Linked DNA regions of Homo sapiens: all the other regions are linked to region 2. The links are contacts of gene promoters, found by promoter capture Hi-C in blood cells and fetal thymus (Javierre and others, 2016). All regions are on one chromosome and are shown on one strand. Each heading gives the region's core, a stretch centred on a gene start or on the middle of the fragment in contact. The rest is flanking DNA. Distances are from core to core; before and after follow the strand shown. Region 1 overlaps CDK17 (cyclin dependent kinase 17). Region 2 holds the start of CFAP54 (cilia and flagella associated protein 54). Region 3 overlaps ELK3 (ETS transcription factor ELK3). Region 4 overlaps ELK3 (ETS transcription factor ELK3).

Region 1 (2,700 bases), core at 105-2,604, 180 kb before region 2:
ACAACACCCTTCATTCATAGGCCGTTTTTGACTGACAAATTTCTGCCCATCCTTCTAGGACCAGCTCAAGTGCTATCTCTGTAAGCTTGTGATTTGCCAAGGCATTTTACTTGCTGCCTCTTTTGTTGTCCCAAAGCACTTTATATGTATCTCTACTACAGGACTATAGTCATCCAAAAGAGATTCTCACATAAACAATCACCTGAATTTACATTAAAGTGATACTGCAATAAGAAAAGTTATCCTTTGAATAAATGGTGCTGGGTTAATTACTAAATATTAAGAAAATATATTTGTAAGACATGTAACTGACAAAGGTCCTGTATATAAAGTATACTTAAAAATTCGTATAAACCAATAAAAAAGACAGAAAACCCAATAGAAAAAAGAAGAAAAACAGACTTGGGTAGTTAATTCACAAAAGAGAGTATCTAAATATAAACATACAATAAACATACGATGAATAATAAACACACAGAAAGGTGTTCAACTTAGTCATCAGAGAAATGCAAAATAAAACCAAGAGACCACTATCAACTTGCTAGAAAACTTAAAATAATAATTTTTAAAAGACATTATCAAAAGTTGGCAAGGAGAACAACCAGAACTATTATATGCTAGTGATATACGTATAAGTTGGTACAACCACTCTGGAAAGCTGTTGACAGTATCTAGGGAAGCAGAATATAATGCAACAATTCCACTCCTAGGTAAGCACTCAACAGAAATGCTTACATGTTAACCAAAAAACATGCACAGGAATGGTGATAGAAGCATTATTTGGTAATAGCCAAAAACCGAAAACAACCAGAATGCCCATCGATAGGAGAATGGATGAAGTACAGTACACTCATAAATGGAATACCATGCAACAATGAAAACGAATTATCTATAATTACATGCAAAAATAGGGCTGAAACTCACAAACATAACACTGAACAAAAGAAGCTAACAACAAAAATAATACATACTGTATAACTTCCATACATACTGGGATACATATTGTGCAATATATATATACAAACTTTGTATAAGTATATAATTCTGTATATCTACATAAAATATATTTTAATATAATTACATATTCATAATTACACAAAGCTCAGACGTTTTAATAAGGATAATCAGAAAGAGAATATTACACATTTAAAAAACAAATAAGAATATATGTGAATGGGATTTTAGAAGATCCAGATACCAAAACATACTATAAAAACAGTATGATCAGAACAATGTCACACATATGGGTAAAACTAATCTTTAGCATCAGAAGGCAGAGAGTATGGCTACAGTTGAGGAAGTGAGGAATACTAAGTAAAGAGAAAGGGAACAGAAGGGGGTTTCTGGGATTTCTGAAATTTTCTTTTACTGATCCAGGTACTGGTTACACAGGTATATTAACATTTCAAAGGTTCGTTGAGCTGTACAATTATGGTTTGTGTACTTCTCTGTATATCTAGTATATATTAATACATGTTTATTTATCCAGCACATATCTAGTGTATCTATATATCTAGTATGTATTTATCTACCTAGCATGTATTAATAACATTTACCAAAAATAAAATATACCTTAAATCCTATTCCAATATGCATCCTATTGAATGCATCTTAAGGACTCCAATAAACCTTTAAGAATGGAAAATAATAAAAATCGAGAAGGCAATATAATAAAATTTAGCTATTCTAAAGTCAAGTATAAAAATTAATTTAAAATGTTTACACCCAGAAGCAGCAAACAAGCAGATCTGATTGATGGTGGAGGTATAGGAGACCAAAAACTTACTAAGGAAGCTCTACGAGACCTTCGACTCATTGGTTGGTCAAATGGTGGACTGTTTATCTGCAACTTTTCAAGATATCCATCAGGTATTCTGATGTCTGCAGGCAGTGATAACCGCTTATTTAAATCCTTAAAAAAAAAAAAAGGTAATCCAAAATAGTAAAGGCAAGGCATTTGGCTTTTGTATTCACAGGCTCTAACATATTATTTCTTAGTGATAAGTAATTGTAAAGTTTTATTGCAGTTGCAAAGTTACCTACATTGATTATATGTAATATACTCATGGCAAAAACATTTACTGTAAGCAAAAGTATACAGCGAAGTGTTACAGAAATGAAATTTTGCAACCTCAGTAATTTTTGAGTCCTTTCACTGGTAAATTCAACTTGAAATTTACTTTAAATTTATTATACCATATAGTAACATTAGGCAAACACTACCACAAACTCTGTGATCAGTTTAAATAACTAACCAAGTAGACATTATATGATCTTGTATGCAACATGGGGAAAGAGAATTGTATTTATTACTGCCATGTTAATGGCATTTCTACTTTATTTAATTATACAATGTGAGCTGGGATAAACTTGAAAAGAATCTTGCCTATATCATTGTATCAAGAAATTTAAGCCCTATAAAAAGAAATTCCTCCCATTCATAACAGCAGCCAAACCATGAAACGGAATGGAGAGGTATAGGAACTGCATAAATATTTACTGAGAAATATAAGACTTAAGTATAAAAACATACAATGCCACCAAATGGTAAGAATAAGTAAGGAGAAGATACTGGTCCTCCCTATATTAATTTTATAAGTTATATAACCACTAAGAAATCACAATAAGCTTATTCTTAGAACAAAATAAAATGCCTAAAATGTATCAATAGAATAAACAGAAAAAATCCAAAAACATTCT
Region 2 (2,700 bases), core at 139-2,638:
TTTCAGGGTTAAAGACTGATTTTTCTAAGCCACCAAATATTTCTGGTTCTTCTCTTAGATAATTTATTGTGTTGCATAATTTATAGAAAAGAAGGTTCTCCATTTTCTCAATACTCATACTTTAATAAATTTAACTCTGACTTTTGCCTATAATACACAGGCTAAGAATAAACTCCCCAAGTATTTCCCTGGAGGTCTGTAGTTTCCCCATCAGAAGTAAAGTCTCCTAAAAGCCCTGTTTAAAATGCAAAGTATTTTGAGAGTTAACACTTCAGGCCACTAGTATGTATTAATGTCCTATGGTTAAGGTTGAGCAAAATGCACATTAATTTAGAATACAGAGATAATTAAAGTAAGGCTGGAATGTGCATAAATAGATGTAATCATAATTATTAGAGGCATAGACATCATGTCCACAGTTACAGACCTCAAGGTACAAATAGAGGAAAGAGAATGGATCAGCTGCATATTCAGTACTCCCTGGCTATCTGTGGGGGACTAGTTCCATGACACCCGCAGATACCAAAATCTGTGGATGCTCAAGCCTCTGATATGAAATGCTGTAGTATTTGCATATAATTTGTGCACATCCTTCAGGATGTTTTAAATCATCTCTAGATAACTAGTAATACCTAATACAGTATAAATGCCATGTAAATAGTTGTATTTTGTGTTATTTTTATTGTTGTATTGTTATTTCTAATTTTGTTCTGAATATTTACAATCTGGAGTTGCTTGAATCCACAGATGAAGAACCCGAGATTTGGAGGGCCAACTGTATTTGATTCTTAAACTGCTTGTCAGATATTTCTCTAATTTCAATTTGATTAATAAGCTTTGTTTTGGGGAGTGATCAATACAGCCTATTCATTTTGAGCACAGGCTTTGGAGTCACAAGTTCCCTTTGGAGGACCTGGTCGCTGACACTACGGTTGTACGCTGACTTTTGTCAAATGACTTAACCTCCTTGAGCTTTGGTTTCCTAAACTGTGAGATGGATATACTAATAGTATCCTAAGTTGTAAAGTAGTTATGATGATTAAATGAGATAAATGAAAGTACATGTTTCAAATGCTTAATGCCTGACACACGTTAATGGTCATGGTCGTCATCATTATCGTTATTAAGTGGCCAACATGGATAAAGAGTATAGTCTGGATTTGTGACCTTAAATTTTTGGCTCTAATATTCGCCAGCGCTCTGCTCAGAACATTCTCTGTTCGCATTTCATACAGCGGTGCCAGCGCACAACCAGGCAACGCCCTCAGGAGCATCATTGTTTTCTGGACCTGGTTCTTTCTCGCTCTGCCCTCCAGGGGCCGCTGTGTTTCTCGGAATGCGCGCGGGATGCCCGGTTGCCACGAGACCGTCGCCAGGCAACCGCGTGTACACATACTCCAGGCGGGCCGGGGCGCGTCAATATGGCGGCGCAGGGCTCCCCCTCGAGCTCTCCGTCAGACGACTCTACCACCTCGGGGTCTCTGCCAGAACTGCCGCCGACCTCCACCGCGACTTCGAGGTCGCCCCCAGAGTCGAAGGGGAGCTCCCGGAGCTCGCTGCTTCAGTGGACCTGCCCCGAGGACTCATTGCCCCTAGCCGTGTTTTATGGGCCGCTGGACGCGAAAAACCCGCTCCTGGCCTCTTGTGAGAAGGAGATCCAGGAGTTGTTAGGCTTTATGAGGAAAAAGAAGGCTTTAGCCACCACGGAGGAAGAGAAGCACGAATTCCGCCGGCGTTGGTAAGCGCTGGCGGGGCACTGGGGAGGGCGCCGGCCAGAGGAGGGACCCCTGGAAAGGGCTGGAGGATGCAGGTGGTGGCCCCAGAGATGGTTCAGCGTTGCGGACGCAGGGGCTGGCTGAAGGGCCCAGGAGAGACAAAGTTTAAGAAGTGGAGACTCGTCGCTCTTAACAATCCTTAATTCCTGGGAGCTGTTATATCTTGGCTTCCTGCTCAGGTCAAAATAAAAATCTACACAGAAATGTTTCATAACTCACCATTTGTTATTTGACCAGAAAAGAAAGATGGTAACATAAGCAGGAAAGAACCTTAAAAAGAGTTCGCAGTTTGCAGTAATAACATGGTGATAGAACTCCCAAAAAGGCAAACAGTTGCGCAGAATGAATAGCAAAATTAAGAAAAAGTCACTGTAATCCTAATAGCAATATAAGAAGGAATTAAAGTGCACATGTTCACAGGATGACATACTTCATTGTATCAAGAGCTAGCTTCATGAACCTGAGCTACCTCGAAGTTATTCCTTTTTCTCCATATACAAATTTATATACTCATAACATGGAAAGTTGTGAAACCCTTGAGCGAGCCAAAAATTTATACATGAATACAAAATACGAAAATTAGCTGGGCATGGTGGCACATGCCTGTACTCCCAGCTACTCAGGAGGCTGAGGCAGGAGAATTGCTTGAACCCGGGAGGCAGAGGTTGCAGTGAGCTGGGATCGCGCCACTACACTCCAGCCTGGGCGACAGAGCAAGACTCCTTCTCAAAAAATAATAATAATAAATAAATAAAATAAAATATTTTTTATTTATGCATATAACAACTATTTATTGAGCACATACTGTATATCAAGTGCTGTTCAAGGAACTAGGAAAACATCAAGTTAACAAAACATATAAGAATCCATGTCCTTATAGAGCATATGTTTTTGTGGGTATAAACAACCACTAAACAAATATGTA
Region 3 (2,700 bases), core at 120-2,619, 250 kb before region 2:
ACTAGCTTGTATTATTCCTGACACTGAGTCTTCTCAGCAAACTCTTGGAAGGAAACTTCCCTCTGGAAGCCACAGAGAGATCTTCAAACATACATGGCGCTGCTTCTGGGGGCAGCCCTGGAAGATAAGGAAGAAGGGGCTGTCAGTGCAGCTGCAGGGACACACGTCCTCTGAGCCCAGGTTGTTCCTAATCCTCCAGCCGTGGGCACCGCTGTGGGGGGCTTTCCTTACCAGCTCCCCTCGTCTAGCAGATGTCCCCGGTGCTGAGTCACTGGGCTGCACTGCTCTGACCCACTTACTGTACCCGACCCTGCCCTCTTCCCTCCCAGTTCCACTCTTTAGCCTTCGACCCTGGCAGGTTTCCAGGTAGCCAGATCGAATCCGTCTTTCCCATTGGTCTCTAGAGAAGCATGACCTGCCTCGGTTCTTTCCAATGGCTGTCACTTCCTCCTTTTGGCCAGCTAGTAAATTGTCTCCATCCCCGTCACTGCGTAACCTTTCCCCAGAAAACTCTTGGTGTCCTCTCTGCTCCCCCAGCAGAGGCAGCAGCTACTGAAGGGCCCTTCCCAGTGTCTCCCTTTTTACATTCTGAGTAGGGTTATGACAGTTGCTTCTAGCTATAGAAAGTTCCCACTGTCTTCCACTTAAACACGTAAAATACTTAAGATTCTTATATGTTCTTTTCTTTAAAAACCAGCTTCATTAAGATAAAATTCACATACCATACAATTCACCCATTTACCATATACAGTTCAGTGGCTCTGAGTATAGAGTTCTGCACCCATCACCGTGACCCACTTTAGAACATTTTCATTACCTCCTTCCTTCCACCCCTCTCAGCCCTAGGTAACCATGCTCTACTTTCTGGTTTTTTGTATAGATATCATGATTCTGGACATTTCATATAAATGGAATCATATGTGACCTTTATCATGTAATATCTGGCTGCTTTCACTTTGCAGTGAATCATAGAATAGAATATTCTATTCTATGGCTCATGCCTATAATCCCAGCACTTTGGGAGGCTGAGGCGGGCAGATCACCTGAGGTCAGGAGTTCAAGACCAGCCTGGCCAACATGGTGAAACCCCGTCTCTATAAAAATTAGGCAGGGCGTGGTGGCTCACGCCTGTAATCCCAGCACTTTGGGAGGCCGAGGCAAGGCAGATCACGAGGTCAGGAGATCGAGACCATCCTGACTTACACGGTGAAACCCCATCTCTACTAAAAAAAATTAGCCAGGCATGGTGGCGGGCGCCTGTAGTCCCAGCTACTCAGAGGCTGAGGCAGGAGAATGGCGTGAATCAGGGAGGCGGAGCTTGCAGTGAGCCGAGATCACACCACTGCACTCTAGCCTGGGCAACAGAGCGAGACTCCATCTCAAAAAAAAAAAAAATTAGCTGGGCATGATGGTGGGTGCCTGTAATTCCAGCTGCTTGGGAGGCTGGGGCAGAAGAATCGCTTGAACCTAGGAGGCAGAGGTTGCAGTGAGCCGAGATCACGCCACTACATTCCAGCCTGGACGACAGAGCAAGACTCCATCTCAAAAAAAAAAAAAAAAAAAATCTATGATTCTGTTTAATGAAATTGAGGCCCATTATGTTATGTTTGTTCCTTACTATTCCAAACAATATTCCTTATTGTTCTTACTATAGTCTAGTAATTCATTATTCCTCAAATAATGAATTCTAGGCCTTGGTGCAGAGCTTCATTCTTTACTACAGCTGGATAATATTCCATTGTAAGGACACCCCACATTTCATTTATCCTTTTGCTGGTTGGTGGACAGGTGGGTTGTTCCTCATGTTCTTTTTAACACAGCAAGGCCATATGATCTGTCTGAGGCTGCCTTTCAGTTCCCAACCATTTTTTGAGCAGGAGAGACATTTTCTGTCATTTTTATCACAGCCCTTGGTTATTTCTTGATGTGTTCATGAATGTAATCCCAACTTAGACATGATGTTCCAAACCTATAAGAAAATTAGAATTTTTTTTTTTTTTTTTTGGGAAAGAAGAAACAGTTATTTAAGACTTGTTAGAATAAATGATTCAGATCCTTTTTCTTCTGTGTTTTTATTTTGGCTCTAAATAAAACATTTATAGAAGTTTGTCTTTTGTGTAATTATTTAGGCTCTAAAAACTTCACTCAGTTTAGATGAGTGTTCAAACTCGCTGAGGGAAAAAAATAAAGTTTTTCCCCAGGGAGAAAAATATTATGAGCTAAAACTAAAAATAACTTAAAATTTTAGCGAAGGAAGCATTAACACACCAGGCCAGCACACTTTCTTTTTAATGGGAACTGACCCTGGGTCAGGTGGGTCCAATGACACCCTTATTTAATTTATTTCCTGCTGGGAGCTGATTTTCCTGGGCATGTTCTGACCCAGGGCACTCGGCAGAGACGCTGCTAACAAAGTCCAGGTGGAAAACATCTGAGTTTCCCAAATTTCTCTAAAGGTTTTTAAGGGCTGTTCAGCTTCGAGTAGCAGCGTGAGTGTGAGGTCGCTGGCGTAAATGAGACCCCGCGGGTTAAGTTGCAGGTGGGAGCTCCAGGATGCAGCAAGGTGGCCGCGGCCACTGGAACTGTTGTTTGGCCTTGACTCTAATCTAAGGTGCCCTGGGCGTCGGCCTGTATGCTGGTGCTCAGTGAGGTTTCTCCATGACTCTGTATGAGATCTCCTGTGCTGAATGGGACCCTTAA
Region 4 (2,700 bases), core at 122-2,621, 230 kb before region 2:
AAAACATTTTTGTCATGTTCCTAGTGATACTACCCAGTCTAGGAACCAATTTGAGAAGCACTGCAGACCAGAGGTTCCTAGTTTATATTTAGAATTCTGCATCAGAAATTACTGCATTTAAAGGCTACCTGCTTAGAGTTTTAATTTCACCAAGTGGACCTGTTCTCTTTCCTGAAGCCATTCAGAATACAACCCTTGAAAAAAAAGACAAGCTGGTATTCCGGATGGCTGACAGGTTGTATGGCCTTGGGCTCTCTTTTTGTGGCTGGATCCAGGAGACTAAGGAAAAACAATTTTTTGCCTTTTAAAATATTATTAGTCTTCCTGTGAAAAGAGCAACTGAGTATGGCAAAAGTTGAAAATAGCAATTTTGAGAACGGTAAACAACAAAATATGGTAGAGGAATAACTTTCTGATTTTTAAAACTAGATGTTACAATTGATACATATTCAGAATTCAGATTACTATCAGCAGTGCCTCTTATTTTTTTAAGAACTTTTTTTTTTTTTTAAATTTAGAGACGGGGTCTCATTATGTTGTCCAGGCTGGTCTTGAACTCCTGGGTTCAAGTAGTCCTCCACTTCAGCCTCTGGAGTAGCTGGGACTACAGGCATACCACCACGCTGGCCAACATCCCTTTTAAACTGATGAAAATAATTTTCTTTCAAAATAACAACAAACCTCTTTCATGTACGCTATAGATGTAATGAAGGAAGAAAAAAATAGATTTGGCTTACACATTTTAAATGATGCTGGCAAGTTTCCTATTACCATGATTGGAAAGGTTGATCAGAATCCTTGGGGTAATAGTTGAACAGCTGAAGCATTTTTGTACAGAAGGGCCCCTAATATGATTACTATAGCAGGTTATAGCAGATATGAAAGAATTCCAAGGAAGGAGAGAGAAGACGCCTTTCTGGAAGAGGTATGCTTTAAAATTGAGAAATGTTTAGGTAAGGAGAGAGGCACCGAAGACATTGTGCTAAATGTAAACAAAGAACCTTGATTTATATAAATAAAGTGAACTCGGTTTTTCTTGGACAGTTTATTATTTTCTTCTTGTCTAAGGATGTCTGTTCCATGACTTTTGAAACAGATTTTGTTCCAATGTGGAATATACCTAGTAGGAATAGGTATGTCTTGAAACAAGGTAGAGCTAATTAAGTTTTCAATTAAGAATGTGTGCTGTAATTTTTAGTTCAACAAATCTAACCCCAGCAAATATTTGCAATGCTCTGCGACAAGGACTGTAGGGACAGAGAATATGTGAATAGTGGATGAGTAAACAAACTGCTGCAGAAAGTAAGGGGCAGACGCGCTTTTTCCAGCTGGCCACTGGACAGGCTCCAAGGAAGCAGTGGCGCCTCAGCTGGGAGGAAGGGACAGGATTTCGATCGAGTACATTTAGATGAATAGAGCCGAATGACGGGGACGTGAGAGTCTGTTCAGGAAGGGACCAGGTGATAGGAGATAAGGTTGGAAACGCAGCTGTGGGCCTTGAATATAGGCTTAGGAATTTCTCTCTTTATCTGTTAAATGTTTACGCTTTTTAAGCTGGAGGTAGGAGGATGAGATCTCTGTTTTAGAGAACAATCACTGATATTAGTGTGGAGGAAGAACTGAAGAGAAAGTGGAAGGAACAGGAAGATAAGAGGAAATTTTTATTTTTATTTTTTGAGATGAGCTCGCTGTGCTGCCCAGGCTGGAGTGCGGTGGCACAATCTCGGCTCACTGCAACCTCTGCCTCCTGGGCTCAAGCGATCCTCCCACCTCAGCCTCTCAAGTAGCTGGGACTACAACTACAGGCATATGCCACCAAGCCTGGCTAAGTTTTGAAATTTTTTTGTAGAAACGAGGTCTCACTATATTGCTCAGGCTGGTTTTGAACTCCTGGGCTCGAGCAGTCCTCCTGCTTTAGCTTCCTAGGAAGGGCTAGGATTACAGGTGTCAACGACCATACCTGGCTAGAGGAAATGATACTACAAATATTGAAGGGAGAATCATCTTTGAGATTAAAACAGTGGACACAGGATATAATTAGAAGACATTTTAGAGGTGAGCTCAAGAGAGGCAGACTTTGAGCTGGGTCTGAGGGGTAAAGTAGGTATTGAAAATTAAGTAGAAGCAAAGATTACTAAGTGATTAACATACTGGAAATGCTACTAAATAACAATAGTTAAGGCCGGGCATGGTGGTTCATGCCTGTAATCCCAGCACTTTGGGAGGGTGACATGGGTGGATCACTTGAGCCCAAGAGTTCGAGACCATCAGGGGCAACATAGCAAGACCCTGTCTCTCCAAAAAAAATACAAAAATTGGCCACGTGTGCTGGCGTGTGCCTGTGGTCCCAACTACTAGGGAGGCTGAGGTGGCAGCACTGCTTGAGCCCTGGAGGTTGAGGCTGTAGTGAGCCATGAGCATGCCACTGCACTCAAACCTGGGCGACAGAGTGATCCTGTCTGAAAAAATAAAGATAAAACATAACAATAGTTAACATTTATTGATGATTGATGACTTATTGTGTGCAAGACGTTGTTCTTAGCACTTTTGGTGGCTTCTCATTTAATACTCCCAGTAATTCTATTTTAGAGATAAGAAACTAAGGCACAGGGATATTGGCTAGTTTATTCAAGATAACACACTCGTAAGTGGTGGAGCCCTGACTCAAGTTTTAAGTTTGTGGTCCCAGCCACCATTCTC

The links. Contacts are between HindIII fragments. The CHiCAGO score rates a contact against its expected background, and 5 or more counts as called.
Region 1: a contact is called between a fragment that was not itself captured here and the fragment with the promoter of CFAP54 in region 2, in 7 of 17 cell types (total CD8 T cells, naive CD8 T cells, non-activated CD4 T cells and 4 more). The highest score is 9.4, in total CD8 T cells.
Region 3: a contact is called between a fragment that was not itself captured here and the fragment with the promoter of CFAP54 in region 2, in 12 of 17 cell types (total CD8 T cells, naive CD4 T cells, total CD4 T cells and 9 more). The highest score is 16.2, in total CD8 T cells.
Region 4: a contact is called between a fragment that was not itself captured here and the fragment with the promoter of CFAP54 in region 2, in 13 of 17 cell types (total CD8 T cells, neutrophils, naive CD8 T cells and 10 more). The highest score is 12.7, in total CD8 T cells.

The regions. Positions count from the first base shown.
Region 1 is chr12:96,309,266-96,311,965 of GRCh38, forward strand. CDK17 (cyclin dependent kinase 17) reads right to left here. Exons shown (of 17, transcript NM_002595.5): 5 at 1,787-1,912. Among named protein-coding and RNA genes, the nearest start is that of CDK17, 90 kb to the right of the region's middle. The HindIII fragment of the contact is 2,543 bases long and covers 84-2,626 here.
Region 2 is chr12:96,488,189-96,490,888 of GRCh38, forward strand. CFAP54 (cilia and flagella associated protein 54) reads left to right here and starts at 1,389. Exons shown (of 68, transcript NM_001306084.2): 1 at 1,389-1,738. The coding sequence starts at 1,422. RefSeq lists a silencer at 1,243-1,537 and an enhancer at 1,428-1,637. The HindIII fragment of the contact is 3,410 bases long and covers 834-2,700 here.
Region 3 is chr12:96,242,462-96,245,161 of GRCh38, forward strand. The region is part of intron 2 of ELK3 (ETS transcription factor ELK3); the gene reads left to right. Among named protein-coding and RNA genes, the nearest start is that of ELK3, 49 kb to the left of the region's middle. The HindIII fragment of the contact is 3,050 bases long and covers 1-2,700 here.
Region 4 is chr12:96,262,321-96,265,020 of GRCh38, forward strand. All of the region lies in intron 4 of ELK3 (ETS transcription factor ELK3), which reads left to right. Among named protein-coding and RNA genes, the nearest start is that of ELK3, 69 kb to the left of the region's middle. The HindIII fragment of the contact is 7,613 bases long and covers 1-2,700 here.